Linked DNA regions of Homo sapiens: regions 1, 2 and 4 are each linked to region 3. The links are contacts of gene promoters, found by promoter capture Hi-C in blood cells and fetal thymus (Javierre and others, 2016). All regions are on one chromosome and are shown on one strand. Each heading gives the region's core, a stretch centred on a gene start or on the middle of the fragment in contact. The rest is flanking DNA. Distances are from core to core; before and after follow the strand shown.

Region 1 (5,596 bases), core at 2,265-4,764, 130 kb after region 3:
CCAGCAGGCAAAAATTTGCATATAACCTTTGACTACCCCAAAACTTAATAGCCTACTGTTGACCAGAAGCCTTACCAAAAACATAAACAGCTGATTAACATATATTTTATATGTTATATATATTATATTTTGTATTCTTACAGTAAAGTAGGCTAGGGAAAAGAAAATGTTATTAAGAAAGTCGGCCGGGCGCAGTGGCTCACGCCTGTAATCCTAGCACTTTGGGAGCCCAAGGCGGGCGGATCACTAGGTCAGGAGTTCGAGACCAGCCTGACCAATATGGTGAAATCCCATCTCTACTAAAAATACAAAAATTAGCCAGGCCTGGTGGCGCGCACCTGTAATTCCAGCTACTCTGGAGGCTGAGGCAGGAGAATCGCTTGAACCCATGACGGGGAGGTTGCAGTGAGCCGAGATCATGCCACTGCACTCCAGCCTGGTGACAGAGTGAACTCCATCTCAAAAAGAGAAAAAAAAAGAAAATAATAAGGAAAATATACTTAACTATGTATTAAGTGGAAGTGGATCCTCATAAAGGTCTTTATCCTTACTATCTTCACGTTGAGTAGGCTGAGGAGGAGGATACGGAGGGGTTGGTCTTGCTGTCTCAGGGGTGGCAGAGGTGGAAGAAAATCCTCGTATAAGTGGATCCATGCAGTTCGAACCCATGTTGTTCAAGGGTCAACTGTACATGAAATTTCTCCCCTTGAAACGTGACATCTTTCCTCAATTTCCTGCTTCACCTCACTTGTTGCCTCCCTTGCTCTGGGCCTCCTGACCCCTCGAGTCGACTCTGCCTGGCATCCCATCTTCTGTCTCCTGCTTCACCAGCACTTCACCAATGTTGCTAGAGCTCCACCTCACTGGACGTTCCCCTAGCTCCACAAATCTCTCCCCTCTCCATACCCAGCCATTGCCTGTGGCTACCCAAACCAGCTTCCCTGCCAGGCATTCACAGCCTCTCACAAAGTGGCCTCAGACATTTCCTGCTTGACCTGGACCATCTCCCTGTTGGAACCTGGCCTGCTAGTCCGACTGGAATGCTTGTTCCCCAGTTCACCCCTGCTTTCCAATGTCTGGGTCTCTCACTCCCATCCCGACCCATGTTCAGGCCACTTCTCCCATGAGACCTTTCCTGCTTTTCTCTATGTTGTCCAAATTAGATTCCTTTTTTGAACCTCTGATGAGCTACATTATGACCTGAGTCATGGTTTCATAATAATTTGTGGCCCTTGGCCAGAAGTGGTGGCTCATACCAGCATATTGGGAGGCCAAGATGGGAAGATTGAGGCCAGGAGTTTGAGACCAGGCTGGGCAACATGGTGAGACCCTGCCTCTGCAACAGATTTTTAAAAATAACTACAGGTGCATACCAGTAGTCCCAGCTACTCAAGAGGCTGAGGCGGGAAGATCACTTGAGCCCAAAAGTTTGAGGCTGCAGTGAGCTATGATCATGCCAATGCTCTCCAGCCTGGGTGGTAGAGCAAGATCCCATTTCTTATAATAATAATTTGTGGCCCCGTTTCTTCCTTCCTTCCTCAATCAAGGCAGCAGCTGAGCTTTTCTTTGTAGGCTCCGAGGACTAAATGCAACACTTTGCTAGTGGCGTTATACAAAAAATGCCTGTTGTATCAAACTTATATCCTCCACAGAACCTCAGTGGAGCTTCAGCTCCACTTTTTTTTTGTTTTGATAAAAAACAGAACCATGGTGTAGTCCCTGAACTTTCTTCCTACACACAGTTCTTGCTTCTGACCTTTAATCCTAATGGGGTGGCTTAGAAAATATTTACTGGTTATTTAAATGCATTCTTTACTATGTGTCATTGTTTTCCCATATATTAGCTTAAGTTTGTGTAATAAGTACATGTAGTTAGACTTAACTGTGAGCAAATGAGTTACTGGTCACTTAAAGGTGAGGCAACTATCACATTTTATGAAGAAAGAATGCATTCTCATGAAACCTACCTTGCTTGTCTATAGTTAGAAAGGTAAGGTACATTCTTGTATATGTTTAGTGCTACGTCAGTATGCTATTTGCTTTTTAAAAAAAACTTTCTGTGTTTGGCTGTTTGAACTTATAATACATGCCTTTCACACTTATTTTTGTATTTTCAGAGTTGGCAATATATTATTTTCTGTGGAAACTCAAACCACGGAAGAAAGGACACAATTATATCATGCTGAAATAGATGCACTTTATAAAGATTTGACAGCAAAAGGAAAAGTATTGATTCTTTCATCAGAATTTGGGGTAGGTTTCTCTTTGTTTCCATTTTTCTGCTCTTCCTATGATTCTTTTGTAAATTTTTTGAACCTCTGCCCTTTCACTGAGATTGTACATCTTATGCTTGAAATTGGGTTGAATTGACCTAAAAATATTTCTTATTTCTTATAGGCAAAAATTCTTGTATTTAGTAACTACAGTAATGGGGAGGATAATAAATTAATAATTTAGTACTGCACTATGACATTATCATAAGTTTGGGCTTTGACAAGATATAAAAAAGCTGGTCCATAATGAAAATGACCTGGGCTTCACCTTTTTCTTCCATTTTCTTCCCTTCGTTGCGGTTGTTGCTTATAACCGTATATTTACAAGGAGCTTTTGAATGTAAACTGGATGATGCATTCTGATGAGTTAATGGCAAGGAAAGTATAATGAAGTTGTGTATACTTTGCACTTGGCGGCCCTTTCCTGGTCTGTGGCCTTCTTCTTTGGTTGTCTGCTTGGACTCGAGGTGGAGTCGTTACAGGCAGCAGGGTATGGTGGACATTCTCTCCCCACCACGCCCCTTCTCTGTGTTCTGCAGTGGACGGGTGCCCCTTACCCTTGAAAAGTCACCTTATTTCTCCAACATTTAATCACTGCATCCATATAATTAAACATCTAAGTTTATACACATAATTGAGCATCATCCAAATCTCAATGCGGAGTAGGGGAAGGGGCTTACCCAGATCTTTTGGGGTAAGGTACATGTTGTTTGAGAGAACATATTTGGTGTTAATAAATGCCTTTTAAAATTTTAGTCACAATATATATTTTGACATTTCAAATAACGTTAAAGGAGACTGAGATTTTTATGTTTATCCAAGAGTTGCAGTTTAAGAAACAGCTGGGAAAACATTGCTCTAAATTGAACTAAATTGGAAAAAAATGATACAAAAGGGTATAGAATATTCAAGAATTTGAAAAGTAGATTCTTATGGGGGAGGAAGAAAACAATCCTCTTCTTGATGTAGATTATTCTTGTGTGTTCTGTCACCTAATGAAAAATTAGTTTGTAATCTTTATAGTATTTATGAGTCTGTATCTTTTTTTTCTAGGAGGCTGATGCTGTCTGCAACTTAATCTTATCCTTAGTTTATTACTTTTATAATTTAATGCCACTCTCTCGAGGATCCAGGTAAGTAATATCCTGTCATTAAAATTATTTTAAATTGAGAAATGTGTTCTTTTTTGCTTATCCTTCCTGTTATGGATATAGGTACAGAGTACACAAAGAAATGGTAAGGAGCTCCCTATTTTTTTCCAAAATCTGCACAAAAAAATATTTCCTTAGTCTATCACATCAGCAAAAGAATTATAGAAGACAGTTCTAATATAGTGTGCTTACGTTTAATAGGATAGGGATTCATCCATTCAACACAAGTTCATGGAAAGTTTACTGTGTATCATGTGCCGTGCTCAGTGTGTTTTAATTTTTTGTATCTGCCAGCCTCTTACTGAACCTCTTCCTCCTCCTCTTCCTTTTCCATTTTGGGCTGTCAGGTGACCCATAATCCTCATGTTTTATACTTTTGGGCCAACAGTCACTCTGTACTATTTTTATTATTTTGGATAAATTCTTGCTACTTGTATATCAGGAGTTTTTTAGGTATCATTAAAACAAGAGCTATGACTGTAGAGTTTTCATTTCATTCTCCTTTTCCCAGCACTGTGTGCAGTAAATTATGTAAATGGCCTTTTGCCATTACTGGCACATAGTTGAACTTAAGATGTTTTGGCTAAAAATAATACACTTGAATGTCTTTATCTTTGATTAATGGCTTAGAAAGTAAAACTCCCCTAAGTGTGGTAGTAAATTTGGTTATAGAATTTAAGACTCATTGAAACAAAATAGAAACATAAATGTTGTCTTATCAGCATAATATTGCTAGTTGTGTCCACTGAATAAGGGATGTGAGGCCTGTGCACATCACCGCTTGTGGGCCCCACTGTACTCAACAGCCAGCATCCGTCCTTTGTCCTCACAGCAGCTCTGCTGGCTCACGTGTGACATTGAAGGACGTGCAGCTCTGATTGTCCTCAACTCTGCCTCATCCCTACATCTCTTCAATCCTAAATAGTCTGTTGATTCTGCCTCCCACACTTCTGTTTCTCTCTTCCCTGTACCCGCCACAGCTAGCTTTGCTCCTGCTCCTCTCTGTGCCCTGCGGCTCTCCAGCACCTTCTGAAAACCATGGGTTTAAGCCGAGCTTGGCAGCATACACAGTGCGCAGTGCTAGCCCTGCCCTGCCCTGGTTTGCCTTGGCTGCAGCACCGCTCTCTTCCGTGGCTCTTTTGCTTCCCCTTGGCTTTCCACGTGGGCTCTCTGCCACATCTCCCTGCCTTCTCTGCCCCTTTCATCTTCAGCCCTGGGACCCTGGAGGTTGCAGAGCACATGTCTTTAGCCTCTGAAGTCTTCCCTGCTGGAGAACCCCATGAATCACCTTGACTCACTTTTCTTGGTGTCCACCCATGGCACTTGTTAGCTTTCTCAGGTGCTCGTGCCATCCTTTCCACCTGCTAGGATGCATTATCTCATGGGTGAGAGCTGTCTTTATTTTGAGCCGATTTGTTTTGGGAAAAGCACAACACTGTGGTTACAATAGTGGGTCCCATGGCCTTTTGCCAGCCCCTTCCACCCAAAACCAGTCAGCTCCCTCTCTTCCCTCACCAAGAGCAGAAGCACAACGTCTTACAAATGCCTCCTACCCCAGACCTGCACACTCGCAGCTCTACACTCGTTCTGGAGTGACAGGGCAGCAGACCTTGCCCCACGAGCCTCCGAGCCAGCAGGCAAAGGTACCCCACAATCCCCTGGCCTCTAACAGCCACCTTGGAGCCCTGGCAGTTCACACACATGCCCAAATCTCCAAACCATCTGTCCGTTAGTACATTGTGAGAATGTATTCTGCATTTCTTCTTTGAAGGCCAGCATTTCTAATGCTTAAAAAGTAAGACTAACATATGTATTTGTATTTATGAACTTTATTGTATACATGCATTGCTGGAGTGCGGTGGAGCGATCTCGGCTCACTGCAACCTCTGCCTCCCGGGTTCAAGCAATTTTTCTGCCTCAGTCTCCCAAGTAGCTGGGACTACAGGCACATGCCACCACTCCTGGATAATTTTTTGTATTTTTGTTACAGATGGGGTTTTGCCATGTTGGTCAGGCTGGTCTCGAACTCCTGACCTCAAGTGATCCACCCACCTCGGCCTCCCAAAGTGCTGGGATTACAGGTGTGAGCCACCATGCCTGGCCTAATTTTTGTGTTTTTAGTAGAGACAGGGTTTCGCCATGTTGCTGTCAAACTCCTGACCTCAAGCGATC
Region 2 (6,087 bases), core at 492-2,991, 160 kb before region 3:
TTCTCCTTCTTCTCCTTCTCCTTCTCCTTCTCCTTCTTCTTCTTCTTCTTCTTTTCTTTGAGACAGACTTTCTCTCTTGTTGCCCAAGCCAGAGTGCAATGGCACAATCTCGGCTCACTGCAACCTCCGCCTCCCAGGTTCAAGTGATTCTCCTGCCTCAGACTCCAGAGTAGCTGGGATTACAGGCATGCGCCACCACGCCCGGCTAATTTTTGTATTTTTAGTAGAGACGGGTTTCTCCATGTTGGTAAGGCTGGTCTCAAACTCCCAATCTCAGGTGATCTGCCCGCCTCGGCCTCCCAAAGTGTTGGGATTACAGGTGTGAGCCACCGTGCCCCGCCTCTTTCTTCTTAATACGATGCACAACGTGCAAACTTTCAACACTGAGTATTTCTCCCGACGCCAGAGCTGTGCTCACCTGGATCTGCTGCAATATGTTCTTTAGCTGAACCAGAAACTCCTTTGCTTCCTTTGCCTTATCTGAAACTCCATTTAAGGCCTGAGATAGTTGTGCCTGAAAAAGATATCACATGTTGAAAAGAAAAATTAGTTGTGAAAGGCACAGAAAATTTGCACTTCATCATAAAAGCTTATGTTTATAAGAGGGGATAGGACTGATCCCACGCATCTGCTGTTCTCATTGATGAAGGGACCACCACTGACCCATGATCTCTACAACATTTGTTTATTTTTCCAACAGTGGTAGATTGGCCTGCACTCTCCTTTCTCATCCCCAAAGCTGGATAGAGGTAAGGAGCACTCAGCTAACGGGTTGAAGCAAACAGGTCTGCCCCTGATGTTTGTAGAGCCCAAGACAAGAAGATAAATAGAGTCCTTGGCTTGGCCTGGCCCCCTCTATCCATAATCAGTACATGCCTGTATGGACATTCCAGACCCCAGGTCAGGTTCCGTCCACCCCATCCCTACACAGTCATCTCCTGGCCTGGGGTGCAAACCCTGGGGCCTGGTATGCCCTGAGGGATGGACAGGAAGGGGGCTGTGGGTCCTGGAACTGGACTAGGTGTATGGACTGGTAATCCTAGGGCATCCTCTAAAGGGGCATACAGGCTCCTAGCCTGGTACCCTTAGCCCTGGGGACTCCTCACCCTGCAGAGAGGGGTGTGACCAGCAGAAGCTTCTGAAGCATGAGGATCAGTTGCTGTGGCCCAAGGGTGAAATTGCAAGCTGAGCTCAAATCTATGGCTTTTGGCACCAGGCTTTTTTGTAACGAACCACATACACACACAATTGAATTTGTCTTTAAAACCTAGCTATTGAGTAGACTGTGACCTTGATTTTTTTTTTTTTTGAGACAGGGTCTCACTGTGTTGCCCAGGCTAGAGTGCAGTGGCTCAATCATGACTCACTGCAGCCTCAACCTCTCAGGCTCAAGTGATCCTCCCAAATCAGCCTCCAGCTAATTTTTGCATTTTTTAGTAGAGATGGTGTCTCGGAGGCTGTGTTGCTCAGGCTGATCTCAAACTCCTGGTCTCAAGTGATCCTTCCACCTTGGCCTCCCAAATTGCTGGGATTACAGGTGTGAGCCATCACGCCCATCCAGACTGTGACCCTGATTTTTACATGACTCTCATTTTCCACATTAAAAAGCTGAGGATAGAACAAAGCAGAGTCAGAAGGGCCAGGGTCTCCTTCTCCCCCAAGTCCCCTCCCAGGTCTCTGCTCAGACGTCACTGTGTCAGTGAGGACTTTCCTCACGACCTTGTGCAATATCCCCCTCGCCTTCCCCTGGCTTATTCTTCCTCCTAACAGTCGTCACCACCCAACCTAGAAAACTTGTTTGCTGTCCATCTCCATGTCCTAGAATGAAGGACAAGGGCTTTGCTGGGTGGCTCACAGCTTATCCCGGCACTGGAAGAGTACCCGGCACATGGTGGCATTCAATAAATATTTGTTGAATGCATGAATCAGTGAATGGGATTCTTTAGACCACACCAACGGTTGTCAAAGTGTGGTTCTAGACCAGCAACATCAGCATCACTGGGCGATTTGTTGAAGTGCACCGTCTCTGGCTGCACCCCAGATCTGCTGATCAGAGGTCGTGGGTGAAGCCCTGGAGTCTGCGGTTTACCAAGCCCTCCAGGGGGTTCTGATGCAGTTTGAGATCCCCTGGACTGTGCAAGTGCAGCCTCCACTGAAAACCTATGGAGAAGATGGCAAAGGAAGCCCACAAAAAGACACAGGGAGTAGGTGGAAATACAAGGAAGGGGGCCCGGTCCCCAGGAGCACCAGCACGCAAGGAGAGGTCAAGGTCTAGGCTGTCTGCTCAGAGAGAGCAGGAGCCTTAGGCTAAGGATCAGCGGAGGTGCAGCTCCTTGGAGAAGCTTTTTCCTACACCATGAGCCTCACCACTCCCAGCCCCACCTCAGTGGGTTTAGGCTCTCCACTCCATAGCTGGCCCACAGTGTACCACCATCTGTTGCCAGCACCTAGGCAGTGAAACATCCCATAGAATATACAGTGATGGCAGAAGCGTCTCAGGTCTGCTCTGTCCCTGACGGTAGCCGCTAGCTGCCTGTGGGTACTGAGCACTTGAAGTAGCTAATGTGACTGAGGAGCTGGACTTTTCATATTATTTAGGGTAAGTTGCAACTGCCATGTGTGATTAGCCAGTGGCTAGTCCTGGAGAGCACAGGTTTGACACCCATCTGATAACCTACAGGTCACATTTGGCAGGCTTCTGGATTAACCTCCTGGGAAAGGCCTCGTGATTCATGGCTTACATCCTGTCTCTGAGAAAAGGCTCTTATCCCGAGGCCCTCAAATCTTACTGTGAGTTCCTCAAACTGTTGACATACTGATTAATACATAACCTACTGACATCAAAAAGGACAGTGAAGCCAGGTGGGGTAGCTCATTCCTGTAATTCCAGCTACTCAGAGGCAGAGGCAGGAGAATTGCTTGAGGCCAAGAGTTCAAGACCAGCCTGGGCAACATAGAGAGACCTCCCTGCCGCACTCCCCGGCCCCGCTTTCCTCCCTCATCCTCACCCTCTCTCTATAAAAAAATTTTAAAAATTAGCTGGGCATGGTGGTGTGTGCTTGTAGTCCCAGCTACTCGGGAGGCTGGGGCAGGAGGATGGCTTGAGTCCAGGAGGTTGAGGTTACAGTGAGTTATGATTATGACACTGTGCTCCAGCCTAGGTGACAGAGTGAGACTGTGTCTCAAAATAAAAATGACACATTTGTTTCTGAATCACAAAGTTTTACTGATCGCCTTGCACATGGAATGTTAGCCTGTATGTTGTCATCTGTAGCCAATGAATGTAACCTCTGTGCTGTAGCCATCAATGGAAAAGGACAACTCTGATAGGAGGAGCTCTCCCTTCTCCTTCACTTTCTAGATAAGCCTTCCAACCTGTGACAGGCTCTGGAACATGCCCAGCTTTGTTGGTGTGTCTTCCCCAGTCGAGCCTCACACTTGGCTTCCAATGAACCTTTATCAAATTATTTCTGCCCTGACAGCCTTAATTTTGCCACATCCTTAGTGGGGTGCAGAGCCCAGGACAACTCCACCCATCCCAGGATACTCACCCTCAAAAGGAGGCTGAGGGGTCAGCATCATTCACAGGCCCTGGAAGATATCTTTAATGACAGGAGTTTTCAAGTTGAAGTTTATCAGGGACAGGGAAAGAATAGCAACCCCTTTCCAAGACTCCCACCCAAAGCATGGGCCCCCTGGGGCTGTGGCTGGCCCCTCCTCTCTTGGTCAGCTCGGGCTGCAGCAACAGAACACACAGACCTGGGGCTTCAGCCACAAACACGGATTTCTCAGAGTTCTGGAGGCTAGAAGTGTGAGATCCGCGTGCCAGTGCGGTTGGTTCAGGGTGAGGGCCCTCTTCTGGGTTAGGTCCTCACGTGGTGTCATGGTTTGGATATAGTATTTTTGGCCACATTAAATCTCATGTTGAAATTTGATCCCCAGTTTTGGAGGTGGAGCCTAGTGGGAGGTATTTGGTCACAGGGGTGGATCCGCATGAGTGTCTTGGTACCGTCCTCCCCTCCTGCTTAGCGGGTTCTCACTGTATTAGTCCCCACGAGAACTGGTTGTTAAACAGAGCCTGGCAGCTCCCTCCTCTCTCTCTCAATTCCTCTCTTGCCATGTGATGCCTGCTCCCTTTTGCCTTCCACCATGAGTGGAAACTTCCTGAGGCCCTCACCAGAAGCAGATGCTGGGGCCATGCTTCTTGTACAGCCTGCAGAATCATGAGCCCCATAAACCACCTTTCTTTATAAATGACCCAGACTCAGATATTCCTTTATAGCAATGCAAATGGACTAAGATGCATGGATTTTCCTTGGTGTGTGCACCAAGAGGAGAGAGAGAGAGAGAGAGAGAGAGAGAGAGAGAGAGAGAGAGAGAGCTTGAGAGAGAGTTCAGGTGTCTCTTTCTTTTTTTTTAAGGGAATTAATTCTATCAGAGGGGGCTGTGAGCACATCTAAACCTAATTACCTCCCAAAGGCTCCACCACCTAATATCAGCACATTGAAGATTTAGGCGTCAACGTATGAATTTGGAAGGGACACAAACATTCAGTTCATAGCACCTCCCACTCATCATACAGTCCTCAGTGGAGAGACTTTGTCTTTTGTCTCTACATTTCTATCCCACTGTGCTGCACAAAGTAGGAGCTCAAAGAATGCTCCCCGGCTGAATAAAAAGCAAAATAATTGCTTGAGGTGCATGCAAAGAGTGGGATAGATCCCTGCAGATTCATCACTGCGGCTAGCACCTTCCTGGAGGAACTCAGCAAGCTTGCTTCTGCCTGAGAGGCAGGGTAGTTAGGGTCACGCACCATCTGCCCAGTACCAGGGGCCAGGACGGCTCTGTCCCAGCCAGCGCCAGCCTTCCAGGAGCCCAGCCCTCCCCAGAGCCTGCTGACCTTCTTCCTGCTTGGCAAGAAGACCAAGGAGCTTGGCAAGAAGCCCAAAAACAGAGTGGTTTTGAAGGAGACCCGTGACCGCAGGCTAATGCCTGGCTGAAAGGGGGACAGTCTCACGGTTCAGCGGACACTGCTTCCAGGTCCATCAGACTTGCCATCTAATTTTTCCCTCCACTGCTTTTTGATGCCCCCTTGGTGAGGTCACCTCAATGCACGCCACATTGGGGCCTGCCATGTGCTCAGCCACGTGAGGGCCCTGTGCCCTGGTCTGCAGCCATGGAAGAGCCAAAATGGGCAGTGTGAGGGCTAGCCGCTGTCGAGGGATGTCCTCATAAGCACACACTGGTCCTTTTCTTCAACCCAGTCCTTTGTGTGTGAATGACCACAAGTCAGTTCTCCTCACTCAGGGAATAGCATTGTGGAAATCAGACCTGATAATTCTAGTGGAAAAAGAGCAAAGGTTTTTGGAGTGAAAGAACAAACGATTTTTTTTTTAAGAGATGGAGTTCTGGAGCAGTGGCTCATACCTGTAATCCCAGGACTTTGGGAGGCCGGGGTGGGAGGATTGCTTGAACCCAGGAGTTTGAGACCAGCCTGGGCAACATAATGAGTACGACCAGACTGGGTAATATAGTGAGCTGTTGTCTCTACAAAACATTTAAAAATAAGCCAGGTGTGGTGGCATGTGCCTCTAGTCTCAGCTACTTGGGAGGCTGAGGCAGGAAGATCACTGGAGCCCAGGGCGAGACCCTGTATCAAAGACAGAGAGAGAGAGAGAGAGACAGGGAGAGTGAGAGAGAGACAGATGGAGATCTGGAGAGCTTTCTCTGCCACTCAGGCTGGAGTGCAGTGGTGTAATCATAGCTCACTGTAGCCTCAAAAACCTGGCCTCAAGCGATCCTCCTGCCTCAGCCTCCCGAAGCACTGGGATTACAGGCCTGAGCCACCTTGCCTGGCTCTCACTCTCTAAAGATGGGTGGCCCAGGAAAGCTGCATCAGCTCCCTGCCCTGCTGCCCCACTGCACGCTGGAGATCTCTGCCTTGAGCAGAGTTGGAGTGCCACAAGGTAGGCAGCATAGTACCTGACATGTAGAATGTGCTCCATAAATATTTGTGTCAGTGAATTGATTTTGCTCTAGATTTTTGTCTGACTAGCTCCCTGAGATATTCAAGTCTCAATCCTCTCC
Region 3 (5,413 bases), core at 2,048-4,547:
TGGTATTGAAGTGAGATCTTTGGGAGGTGTCTAGGTCATGAAGGTGAAGCCCTTGTAAATGGAATCAGTGCCCTTGTAAAAGAGGCTTGAGGGCGCTCCCTGGCCCCTTCTGCAATGTGAGGACACCCAGAAGGTGAAATCTATGAGGAATGAGCTCTCAGCACACACGTCAGCTGGTGCCTTGATCTTGGACTTCCAGCCTCCAAAACTGTGAGCAATACATTTCTGTTCTTTACACATTATCCAGTCTCAGGTATTTTGTTATAGCAGCCTAAATGGACTAAGGTAATGTTTCAGTGGCTTAATGCAAAAAAACACACTGTCAGAAGTTATTTACTACTTCTCTCTCATTATAAGCATGAACTTTAAAAGGTACTTTATATTGGCATTTGAATAAACAGACACTAACATTCCCCAAGGATGTCAAAATATTTGTTATATAATAGTTTCAGGCTTGTACAAATAATGTCTTCACCAGCACCACAGAAATTCTGTAGAAACTTCTCCTTACCCTGGGATATTATTTGTTGATACTGATTTCAATACTCTTACCTCACTGAGTATAGGCCAGAACGCAGAGCCTGCCTTTAAAATGTTAAGGTTGGCCTGGCGTGGTGGCTCATGCCTGTAATCCCAGCACTTTGGGAGGCTGAGGTGGGTAGATCGTGAGGTCAGGAGTTCAAGACCAGCCTGGCCAAGATGGTGATGGGTATGGTGGCGGGTGCCTGTAATCCCAGCTACTTGGGAGGCTGAGGCGGAGAATTGCTTGAACCCGAGAGGTGGAGGTTGCAGTGAGCCAAGATCGCGCCACTGCACTCCAGCTTGGGCGACAGAGTGAGACTCCATCTCAAAAAAGAAAAAAAAAATTGGTAAGGTTGGCATTGTCTAAGTTGTGCCTCTTTTCTCGAGTCCTGACACCACGGACCTCATGCTGCTGTCTAGCTGACCCTAACCTCCTTTTCCTTCTGTAATCCGTAATTCTCTGAAGTATGTGCTTTAAAATGCTTTCAGTGCCCCGATACTTCAAAGTGATTTCTTTTCTTATTTCACCATCACATAGCTGAATCTCCTATCACCTACCTTGAGTGATTTCTGCTAGGTACTACAGGTGAGACTGCATTGTAACCAGTGAAATTAAAGAAATTCATGCAGGCTGGGCGCGATGGCTCACACCTGTAATCCCAGCACTTTGGGAGGCCGAGGTGGGTGGATCACCTGAGGTCAGGAGTTCGAGACCAGCCTGGCCAACATCGTGAAACCCCATTTCTACTAAAAATACAAAAATTAGTCGGGCGTCGTGGCACATGCCTGTAATTCCAGCTACTTGGGAGGCAGAGACAGGAGAATTGCTTGACCCAGGAGGCAGAGGTTGCAGTGAGCTGAGATCACGCCACTGCACTCTAGCTTGAGTGATAGACTGTCTCATAAAAAAAAAAAAATTCATGCTAAGGTGTGAACCGAATGTCAAAATGCTTCCCACCCCTTCCTCTCCCTTACTCCCACACAGGCAGACTGGTCACTCTCCTGAAGACACCCACCGTTTACATAAGTGAATGAATAAATACCTGACATCCAGAAATGTGACTAGGTAATTAGTAGAAGGTGAGGCACAGTGAAGAGGCGGAAAATTCTGGGCAGTGGGTGGGGTGGGAAGCCTGGGTGCTGTCAATCACACCGCCTGCACTAAAGCTTCTTCATATCAGTCTCACCCACTTGCAACCGTCCAGGGAGAATATTGTGCCAATTTCAAAGACACTGCTTCTGGGGTGGGCTCTAGGAGGTGGTAAAGGGTATAAAACAACCCAAAGTGCAGGGCTCTTTTATGTTGGGTGTCTGAAGTGCTCAGAACACTTTATAATTTTGATCCCCTTGAATGTAGCTAGAAAATTAAATCCCTTTATAATTAAAGCCAATAATGAATGGGCATTAAAGTTATCCAATCTATACACTGCATTAGTTTTTAATCTGCGGTTGGGCTGTAGCGTTTACTTCTTGATCTTTTCTATCTCTAATCTGGTTATAACTGCCTGTCATTTTTACTTTTCCTGGGAGGGGCAGAGTCTCTCTCTCTCTTCTCTTTTCCTCTGAGGTGTGCGTCGTGTTTATTTTTGCCTGAGCTGATGGATAATTTCCGAGATTTAATCCCTTTCTCTGGTTTCCTGACATTTCCACTTAGAGTTACTCTTGTGTTTATGGCCAGAATGAAAGGCATGTTTACTAGTGTTTTGAAGTTTCAAAAGTGGGTCTGGCGTTCTTGCTGACTGCTGCGGGTACTGCTGGACAAGGCCGTGCTGAGAAGGCCAGCGCGCCCGGCGGCAAGGAGCGACCTGCCCGGGTCTGGGGCCCCCAGCCGCCCCCCGCGGCGAGTGGGAGGCAGCAGGAGGCGGGCTGGATTCCGCCCTCGGGGAGGGCCGGGGGTCCTGGGACCAGAGCCAGGCCTCCTGCCCTCGACGTCCTGCCGGTTGTGAGCCAGAGCCTCGGTACCCCCACCCCCTGCAACGGCCTGCTTCGTGGGATCTGAAGCTGGGCCGCCCCCTGGGCAGGGCAGGGATCGGTGAGGCAAGGAGCTGAGGAGCGCTGGCAGGTAAGGGGGAAGTCTGGAGCCGGGTTGGAGGTGAGCGGGCGTTGAGGGGTGGGACAGAGGGAGTGGAGACGGGGCTGGGGGCGAGCCAGTGAACTGGGGGTGGCACAGAGGAGGTGGGAGCAGAGATGGGGGTGATCCGGAAGCCTGGGGTGGGGGGTGAGTGGGTTCGGAGCTGAGGGTGAGCCAGTGAGCTGAGGGTGGCACAGAGGGCGTGGGGGCGGAACTGGGGGTGAGCCGGGAAGCTGGGGGTTGGCACAGAGGAGGTGGGGACAGAGATGCGGGTGAGCCGGGAAGCTGGGGTTCGGGGTGGCGCGGGTGAGAGGGTTCGGAGCTAGGGGTGAGCCGGGAAGCTGGGAGGTGGTTCAGAGGAGGTGGGGACAGAGATGGGGGTGAACCGGGAAGCTGCGGGTCGCGGGGGGCTTAGTAGGTTCGGAGCTAGGGAGTGGCACAGAAGGGTTCGTGACGGGGCTGGAGGTGAGTCGGGGGGTTAGAGGGTAGTCACGCGGAGTTGGAGATGAATTAGGGCGCTGGAGGGGCGCGAGGGAGGAGGAGACCCGGGTGGAGGCGAGCCCGGCTGCTGGACGCGGACGCCACCCGGACCCGGGGCCCGCGCAGGGGCCTCGAGGAGAGGGGGCGGGGCCGGGGGGGCGTGGCGCGGGAGGGGAAGTGGGCGGGGCACCGCCGGGAAGGGGGCGGGCCGGGGGAAAGCCTTGGTTCGCTGCAGCGGGGCAGGCGCGTGGCCGGGCCGCGGCGCGATGAGTGGGGCCCGGGCGGCGCCCGGGGCCGCGGGCAACGGCGCGGTCCGGGGGCTGCGGGTGGACGGGCTGCCCCCGCTGCCAAAGAGCTTGAGCGGGCTGCTGCACTCGGCGTCGGGCGGCGGCGCGTCTGGGGGCTGGCGGCACCTGGAGCGGCTGTACGCGCAGAAGTCGCGCATCCAGGACGAGCTGAGCCGCGGGGGCCCGGGCGGCGGCGGGGCCCGGGCGGCAGCGCTGCCCGCCAAGCCTCCCAACCTGGACGCCGCTCTGGCGCTGCTCCGCAAAGAGATGGTGAGTGGGGCTCCGCGAGCTGGGGCTCTTCCCGGCCGGGCTCGCCGTCCCGGGAAAGTTCGCGGGGACCGCGCTCTGTCCGGAAGTCCCCGCGCCCACCCGCCCTTTCGGGCTCCTCCGCCCCAGGCGCCGGCGCCGTCCTCCCAACGACCCCCATTTTTCTCGCGTGCTCCGTGCCCACGATTGGAACCCCCGCGGGAGAGCCCCGCGCGCAGAGGGCGGCTTTCTTATGCCCGGCGCCCTCAGTCCGGCCCCGCTGGCTCGGAAACCTGGGCGCCCGGAAGCGCTGTGCGGGGTTCGTGCCTGGCCTGGGGGCGGGGGCGGCCTTGTCACCTCTCCCCGAGTGAAACAGACCTTCCCGGTGGGGGAAAGGCTTTCACAGCGGCCCAACGGATTAACGCGATTGCGTTTTCCTACCACGAAGAGGACAACTTTTGTCCGCCGCCAGTGTAGACAGCAGATTGGAACAGCCCGGCCCCCTTTCCGGCGCCCCAGGCCGCGCGTCCGTGATCCGATTACCGCGGGATGGCCCCGGCGCACAGATGGCTGCGAAAGCAGACGCGCACCCCGGGCGAGGGAGGCGGCCGGGTCCCTCAGCCCCGCGAAGCTGATTGCCCAAACCCTCTTGAGAAAGGTGGGAGGTGGCTGTCCTCCCGGTCTGGGTGCTGTCCATGTGAGTTCTTCGCCTTGTGTCTAAGCTCCATACCATGGGCTCAGTGTTTCTCTGTGCTTGGGAAGTACATTAGCTGTTTGTGGACCAGAACACACATGATTTAGGGTGACGCTAAAAGTAGGACAAGGGCAGGGATTTAGGCAACAGCGAGTCTTTCCCCAGCTTTCTCGGCCAGGCGTAGGCCAGGCAAGAAGAAATCAAAAACTTTTCCTCTTTTCTACCATCTTACTGGCCCCCATCACCTCCTCCCAATCCCCTCGTTTTAAAAGCCTCCCTTTCCATTCACCTCGTCCAGGTTGTCTCCTTTCCCTATAGGTAAATTGTTAAGAAATCTAACATTAGGAAAGCTGCCTTTTCCCAAAACTAAATTTGCCAAAAAATAAATTGTTATAGGAATCTTTTAAATATGTATCTAGTGCATTTAAGATATTGTTTAGAAAAATTCAGGGTATGCATACTTTTTTTTCAGGAGCATTATCTGTTCTGAAAACTAAGACTTAATTGAATTCAGAAAGCAGCCTTAACACTTTTAATCAAAGAGATATTGTCTTCCTACTCTGTAGCTGGCATTGAAGTGATTTCCAATTCTCACTGAAAAGATTTTCTAAGCTTCTTACAGAACCACTTAAATTCCAAGCCAACCGTTTTTAATTTATTAAAAAACATTCATTGACATAAGCATCACACAGCTGGTGAACTGCATTTTAATTAGATAAATCTACACGTAGTGTGTTTACAGTCTGAACTTGGACATAGCAGAACCACGGGGGTGAAGTAGGAAGATCATCTTTGATTATTTAAATTCCATACTTGAGCAAGAGATAGAAAAACCTCGGGGCCGCTCCTGTTGTGAAGCTGTGGTTTATAAACATGCTCTGGAGTCTTGCTATGGTGGCTTGGGAGTCAACGTGCCATTCCCAGAAGTATTTTTCCAGGTCCCTCCTGGTGTGACTGAAGCACAACCACATCCGTATAATTACGCCTTGGACCAGAGCTCTCTGTAAGCCTATTTGAAGCACAAGAAAAATAAACAGCCATCTTTGGTCTGCCTGGTATTTAGCTGAGATAAAGATAAGATATGGCTGCAGGTTTTGACAAGTTCCTTTCAAG
Region 4 (5,553 bases), core at 1,534-4,033, 190 kb before region 3:
TTTGAAGACTTCAACTAACATAAAGCATTTAGGCACCCTTTCTTGTTTCTTCAAATGTCTCAGACTTCAGTTTCCTCTTATATTCCCTCATGTTCTTTTTTCTGGAATGGAAAGTTTTCTTTTTAATAGAAAAGACAGAAGAGTTGGGATTGAATGAGTCTGCATTTCCCTGTTGCTTAATAATAGAACATCTGTGGCAGTCTGTCAAATTGTCTTTTGCTTCCCGTTCCAAGCGAGCCCTGATGCATTCTAGTTGGCTCTTCTCAGGAGCCTCAGCTCACTCTACGTTTTGAACTTCCTGACCTTAATGAAAATTTTCATTTGTCATTGCTGCTCTCTGCCCTTTCCTCTTGTTTTTTTTTTAAATGTGTCCTTTGAAAATGTGAGTGTGTCTGGTTAAGGAAACAGAATGTGGACACATTAAAAACACATACACCTGTAAAATGACCTCAGAATGTTGACATTGCGGTGTGGAAATAAATACACATGAATATAATGCTAGTTCTTATGGCATATCCTGGGTATGCCAAGTTAAAGGGTAGTCAGCCAACTGGTGCTAATTGGAATACACCAGCTGTGCTGAGTTTGTGTAACATGGGAAAGTATAGTTGTGCCCTTGTTCTCTAAAAACTTCTAAGCCATTGTAGGACAGTTAAACAGACATGGGTGGCAAAAATATATGATGGGTAATGGTAATCTCCATGACCAATCATAGCATCAGCTGGTCATTTTTAGAGAATGCTTGAGAAAGGAAGAAGGGGATGGTGAGTTGGACAACAATCCAGCTGGCCCTGCCTAGACCCAGGAAATTACCCTATTTTTCCAGAACTTGTGCTATAAATTCTATGATTAAGCTGCATCGTGCATTGAAGCAGGTTTTCATGGGGTCATCTCGGAACTTGGCCACCATTTATATATATTTTTTTATGTTTAGAGACAGGGTGTCACTCTGTCACTCCTGCTGGAATGCAGTGGTGTGATCATAGCTCACTGCAGCCTCCAATTCCTGGGCCCAAGCCATCCTCCTGCCTCAGCCTCCCAAGTAGCTAAGACTATAGGGCACACCACTATGCCTGGCTCATTTTAAAATTTTTTGTAGAGTTGGGGTCTTGTTTTGTTGCCCAGGCTTGGTCTTGAACCACTGATCTCAAGAAGTCCTTTTGCCGCAGCCTCCCAAAGCACTGGGATTACAGGTGTGAGAGCCACTGTGCCCAGCCATCATGTCCCTTTTTTTTTTTTTGAGATGGAGTCTTGCCCTGTCACCAGGCTGGAGTGCAGTGGCCTGATCTCAGCTCACTACAACCTCCGCCTCCCGGGTTCAAGCGATTCTCCTCCCTCAGCCTCCTGAGTAGCTGGGACTACAGGTGCACACAACCATGCCCAGCTAACTTTTGTATTTTTAGTAGAGATGGGGTTTCACCATGTTGGCCAGGATGGTCTCGATCTTGACCTCGTGATCTGCCCTCCTTGGCCTCCCAAAGTGCTAGGATTACAGACGTGAGCCACTGCGTCCGGCCCATGTCCCATTTTTAATGTAGTGACTATACAAGTAATTTGGCTGGAAATAGTATGGGATCACATATTCATTCCTCCATTTATTCCACCAATCACTGGGTGCCTGCTGTCTGCAGACCTTGCAGATGGAGCAGTGAAGAAGATAATAGTGCTTTGCCTTTATGGAGTATACTGTACAATCTACTTTGGAGTTGAGCAATATAATTAGAAAGAATTATAAACAAATAGGGTCCTGGAGTACCATGCAGAACCTGGTCTAGATGTAGTGGTCAGGGAGGTCTCTCAGGAGGTAACATTCAGGCTAATGCTGTATTAAATGGTGCTGGTGAATGGGGCAGGGAAGAGTGAGCCAAGGAGGGAGAAAACAGCCTTGCTAACATTGTGGGGTATGAAGAGGCCTGGTGTGTTCAAGGAGCTGGAAGAAGTCTAGCAAGACTAGGACAGAAGGGAGAATGGTTGGTGCTAATACAAGAGAGACAGGCTGAGACCAGCCCTTGCCAGGTCTCATAGGCAGTAGTGAGCCTTGGGACTTTAGTCTTAAGTACATGAGAAGCCACCAAAGAATTTCATGCAAGGGCATGAGGTAATCTGATTTAAATTTTAAAACGATCACTGTAGCTCCTATGTGGTGAATCGATTATAAGGGAGCAATAGCAAGAGGCATGAGGAGACTGATGTAGGGGTTTGTTGCAGTGGTCCAGGTTCAAAATAGCGTGGCCTGGACTAGTGATCTCAAAAAAATGAATGGGCAAACCTACTCTTTCATAAGTGCAAGGCTGCCTGTAAGGAAGAAAATTCTTATGCTTTTAAGCAATGAAAGCGTCAGATGTAGCTTAACACACCTGTGTGTTGCTCAGCCCTTAGAGCTGTGTCACTGCCATTTCTCCACAGCTAGCATTGGGCCATCTTAACGTGAATCATTCACTGCCCCTGTTTCAGGAACCTTAGCCTCTTTTGTGGCCTCAGATAAGAAAGAGATAAGAAACACATAATAGAATAGTGTTCTGTAGATCAGAAGGGACCTTTGCATCCTGAGACTGAGGTACATGAAGGCCGCCCCTGAGCATATAGCGAATTGCTAATATTTATTGGGGGTGTACTGAGAGTGTTTGTTTATGTTCATTAACTCATTTATGGTCTCAATCCTCACAATTCCTGGCACCTGTCTTCATTTCACAGAGAAGCTTGAGACTTACAAGAGGTTAAGTTACTTGCCTGTAGTTAAACATTAACCTCACAGCCCCATATCTGCAATTCCAAACACCCAGAGCTCTGGAAACCACAATTTGATTGATCCCTTTTCTTTTAAGATTGGTGCAGATTTATTTGGCAGAAAAACCTGATGAAGCTTTTAAAAATCATTTTTGTTCGGCTGGGCACGGTGACTCATGCCTTTAATCCCGGCACTGTGGGAGGCTGAGGCAGGCGGATCACAAGGTCAGGAGTTCAAGACCAGCCTGGCCAATATGGTGAAATCCTGTCTTTACTAAAAATACAAAAATTAGCCGGGTGTGGTGGCATGCGCCTGTAGTTCCAGCTACTCAGGAGGCTGAGGCAGGAGAATCGCTTGAACCCGGTAGGCGGAGTTTGCAGTGAGTCGAGATTGTGCCACTACACTCCAGCCTGGGCAACAGAGCAAGACTCCGTCTCAAAAAAAAAAATTTTTTGTTCATCTCATTTGGTGTGAATATTCATAGATATTGCCACAGAAATATTAATGTGTTTAATTATGGATTACTGCCTTGGACCCTACTGGAAGTGGTCTGTAATATTCAGTATATTCAGTTTTGCCTTTTTAAAATGTAAAGACTTCTGAATTTTAAAGCTGGAACCTGACCCTAAGGATGCCAGATAAAGGATTATGGAGCTGAAGTAAGTGCCAAAGGTTGGGTTCAGACCCCAGGCTTTCTGGCTTCAACACTGTGTACATAACTTTTATACTAGAGAGAGCATAGGTGAGGTTAGGCTCTGCTCTTTGTCCTTTGAGTGACACAAGTACACTGACTCTGAGCCATCGCCAGACAGAGACATTTCTTGCAAGTTATAGTCAAATAGCTTTGATCGTTCCCCAAATTCTTGCAGCTCTCATACTGCCCCGCAATGTGGATGTAGCCCACTGCATGGTACTCCACCCGGAAATCCTCCATGCTCCAGTGCCTCTTCTTACTTTTACGCCAGACTTCCTGTTCCTGAGTAGATCAGTGTCAGATGGGTGTTAGGAAGAAAGTAATCTAGCTGAAGTAATTTAGGCTCATCAAGGTGTGAACAAACTTCTTAATATTCATACAGCCGTCTGCATTTTTAAAAGAGCATTTGTTTACCGGGCTACTCTCTCTCTAATTGGAGACAGGTTGGTTGGGCACTTCAACTAATAGATTAAAAAAGAAAGAAAATCTAAGCCGCGTAAGAGAAAATACCTAAATCACCCCATAGACGGGTTTGCTGAATCTGGTGGACTGCCTGCCTTCATCTCTCACTTTTCTTCCAAACTGTTCTTTCTTTTTCTAGCTTTTCTTCCTTCTTCCCTGCCCAGCATATAAGTTCTCAGAATCTCCATACATATCCCTCTCCCTTGTGTGGGATAGTAAGGCTAGATTAGTTGCGATAGGTTAGGCTGTGATTTGATAACAAATAGTCCCTACATCCCAGTGGTTTAAAAGACAAAAATTAATTTTTCTCATGTTACATGGCCATCGGGATTTGCAGAGGCAGGTCTCCTGTGCCACACCATCCTCACCTAGGGACCCGGGATGACGGGGTGCCACCATCTGGAGGGTGGTTAGTTGCTTTAATGAAGGAAAGGGGAGTTAATGAAGGGCTCTTAAGGGGTCCACGTGGAAGTAGGCACACACCCCCTCTGCTCGTGTTTCTTTGGCCAGGGAAAGCCACCTAGGCATTCCTAGCATCAAGTAGACGGGGAAGCGTGAGTCGCCTGTGTGCCTGGAAGTAGTGGAGGACCCAGTATTGCCTATGGGCAGTAATGCCTCCTACTGCAGAGAATATGGGGGGAAAGAAAACCGAGGAGACCACTGATGGTTTCTAAGTCAGGTCATGTATTATGAATAATGTACTGAAGTGATTCTCAAGCTATGAATAAAAATAAAAATTAGACAGTGGTGGGTCATGCTAATAGGGACTCAGCAGCTATGAAATAATGAGGCAAGAATTTTTTTTTCCCAAAAGTTTGTGTTTGATACATGCACAGATCTAGACCTCAGACCCTTTCTCAAAAAGCCATCAATAGCTACAAAACTAAGATGTTTCTGGTGAACTGTTTAAAGAGGGATGAGGACACCGAGGTATCTGTGTCTGTGCCAGAGCTACCACCAAGGGACTCTCTCCTCCCCTTGGTCTAGTCGGCCCCTCAGCCCTGGTGTCCCCACAGCCAAGGTGCAGGGGATTAGGTGTTCTCCGTGGCTGCTGATGGGGACAGCAGGAACTAGGAGAGGCCCGACATTGCTCCTTTCTTTTGTAGGCCGGTCTCTTTCCAGGGCCCAGGGGTTTCAGCCTCATAGTAGCTATCATACAGTTGGCCAAGAATTTTATTACTGTGCTGAAATCCTCTTTAAATTGCTCCATTCTCATGCTAATCTCTAGTAACAGATCGGCCAAAAACATCTATAACATCTCCAGTATTGCTAGAAATCTGACGTGCCTCGCGCCACTGCACTCCAGCCTGGCGACAGAGTGAGACCCCGTCTCAAAAAAAGAAAAAGAAATGTTCAACTTAGAGACTTGATTTAGCCATTACTTCAGTGGAGCGGGTAGGAGGGAAGAGAGGAATTACTTAAATGTTTAGAAAAGGCGGTAAATATCTTAGGGGATCTTGGAGATCTGGGAACGGTATACAGGGTTTTGTTTGTTTTTATAGGGGTTAGATATGGTCATAGTAAATAGATTAGATGTGCATGGCAGTGGAAAAGATATCGTAACTTCAAAGTAAATGTGGAATTTTTTCCAGTCATAGAATAGGAATAAGACTCTTTCTGGTGTGGATAAAATGGAAGTGGCGCACACAGAGTCCTCCGTGCTATGCCT

Evidence for each region. Contacts are between HindIII fragments. The CHiCAGO score rates a contact against its expected background, and 5 or more counts as called.
Region 1: a contact is called between a fragment that was not itself captured here and the fragment with the promoter of FAM89A in region 3, in 6 of 17 cell types (naive CD4 T cells, non-activated CD4 T cells, total CD8 T cells and 3 more). The highest score is 7.8, in naive CD4 T cells.
Region 2: a contact is called between a fragment that was not itself captured here and the fragment with the promoter of FAM89A in region 3, in 1 of 17 cell types (erythroblasts). The highest score is 6.1, in erythroblasts.
Region 4: a contact is called between a fragment that was not itself captured here and the fragment with the promoter of FAM89A in region 3, in 6 of 17 cell types (naive CD4 T cells, activated CD4 T cells, total CD8 T cells and 3 more). The highest score is 7.3, in naive CD4 T cells.

The regions. Positions count from the first base shown.
Region 1 is chr1:230,909,280-230,914,875 of GRCh38, reverse strand. TTC13 (tetratricopeptide repeat domain 13) reads left to right here. Exons shown (of 23, transcript NM_024525.5): 19 at 2,118-2,253; 20 at 3,327-3,406. Among named protein-coding and RNA genes, the nearest start is that of C1orf198, 44 kb to the right of the region's middle. The HindIII fragment of the contact is 7,430 bases long and covers 1-5,596 here.
Region 2 is chr1:231,191,798-231,197,884 of GRCh38, reverse strand. TRIM67 (tripartite motif containing 67) reads right to left here. Exons shown (of 10, transcript NM_001004342.5): 2 at 419-514. Among named protein-coding and RNA genes, the nearest start is that of TRIM67-AS1, 7.2 kb to the right of the region's middle. The HindIII fragment of the contact is 1,207 bases long and covers 1,138-2,344 here.
Region 3 is chr1:231,038,138-231,043,550 of GRCh38, reverse strand. FAM89A (family with sequence similarity 89 member A) reads left to right here and starts at 3,297. Exons shown (of 2, transcript NM_198552.3): 1 at 3,297-3,630. The coding sequence starts at 3,340. RefSeq lists silencers at 3,136-3,245, 3,506-3,555, 4,196-4,275 and an enhancer at 3,938-4,619. The HindIII fragment of the contact is 3,223 bases long and covers 1,692-4,914 here.
Region 4 is chr1:231,231,183-231,236,735 of GRCh38, reverse strand. The region is part of intron 2 of FSAF1 (40S small subunit processome assembly factor 1); the gene reads left to right. Among named protein-coding and RNA genes, the nearest start is that of FSAF1, 7.2 kb to the left of the region's middle. The HindIII fragment of the contact is 164 bases long and covers 2,702-2,865 here.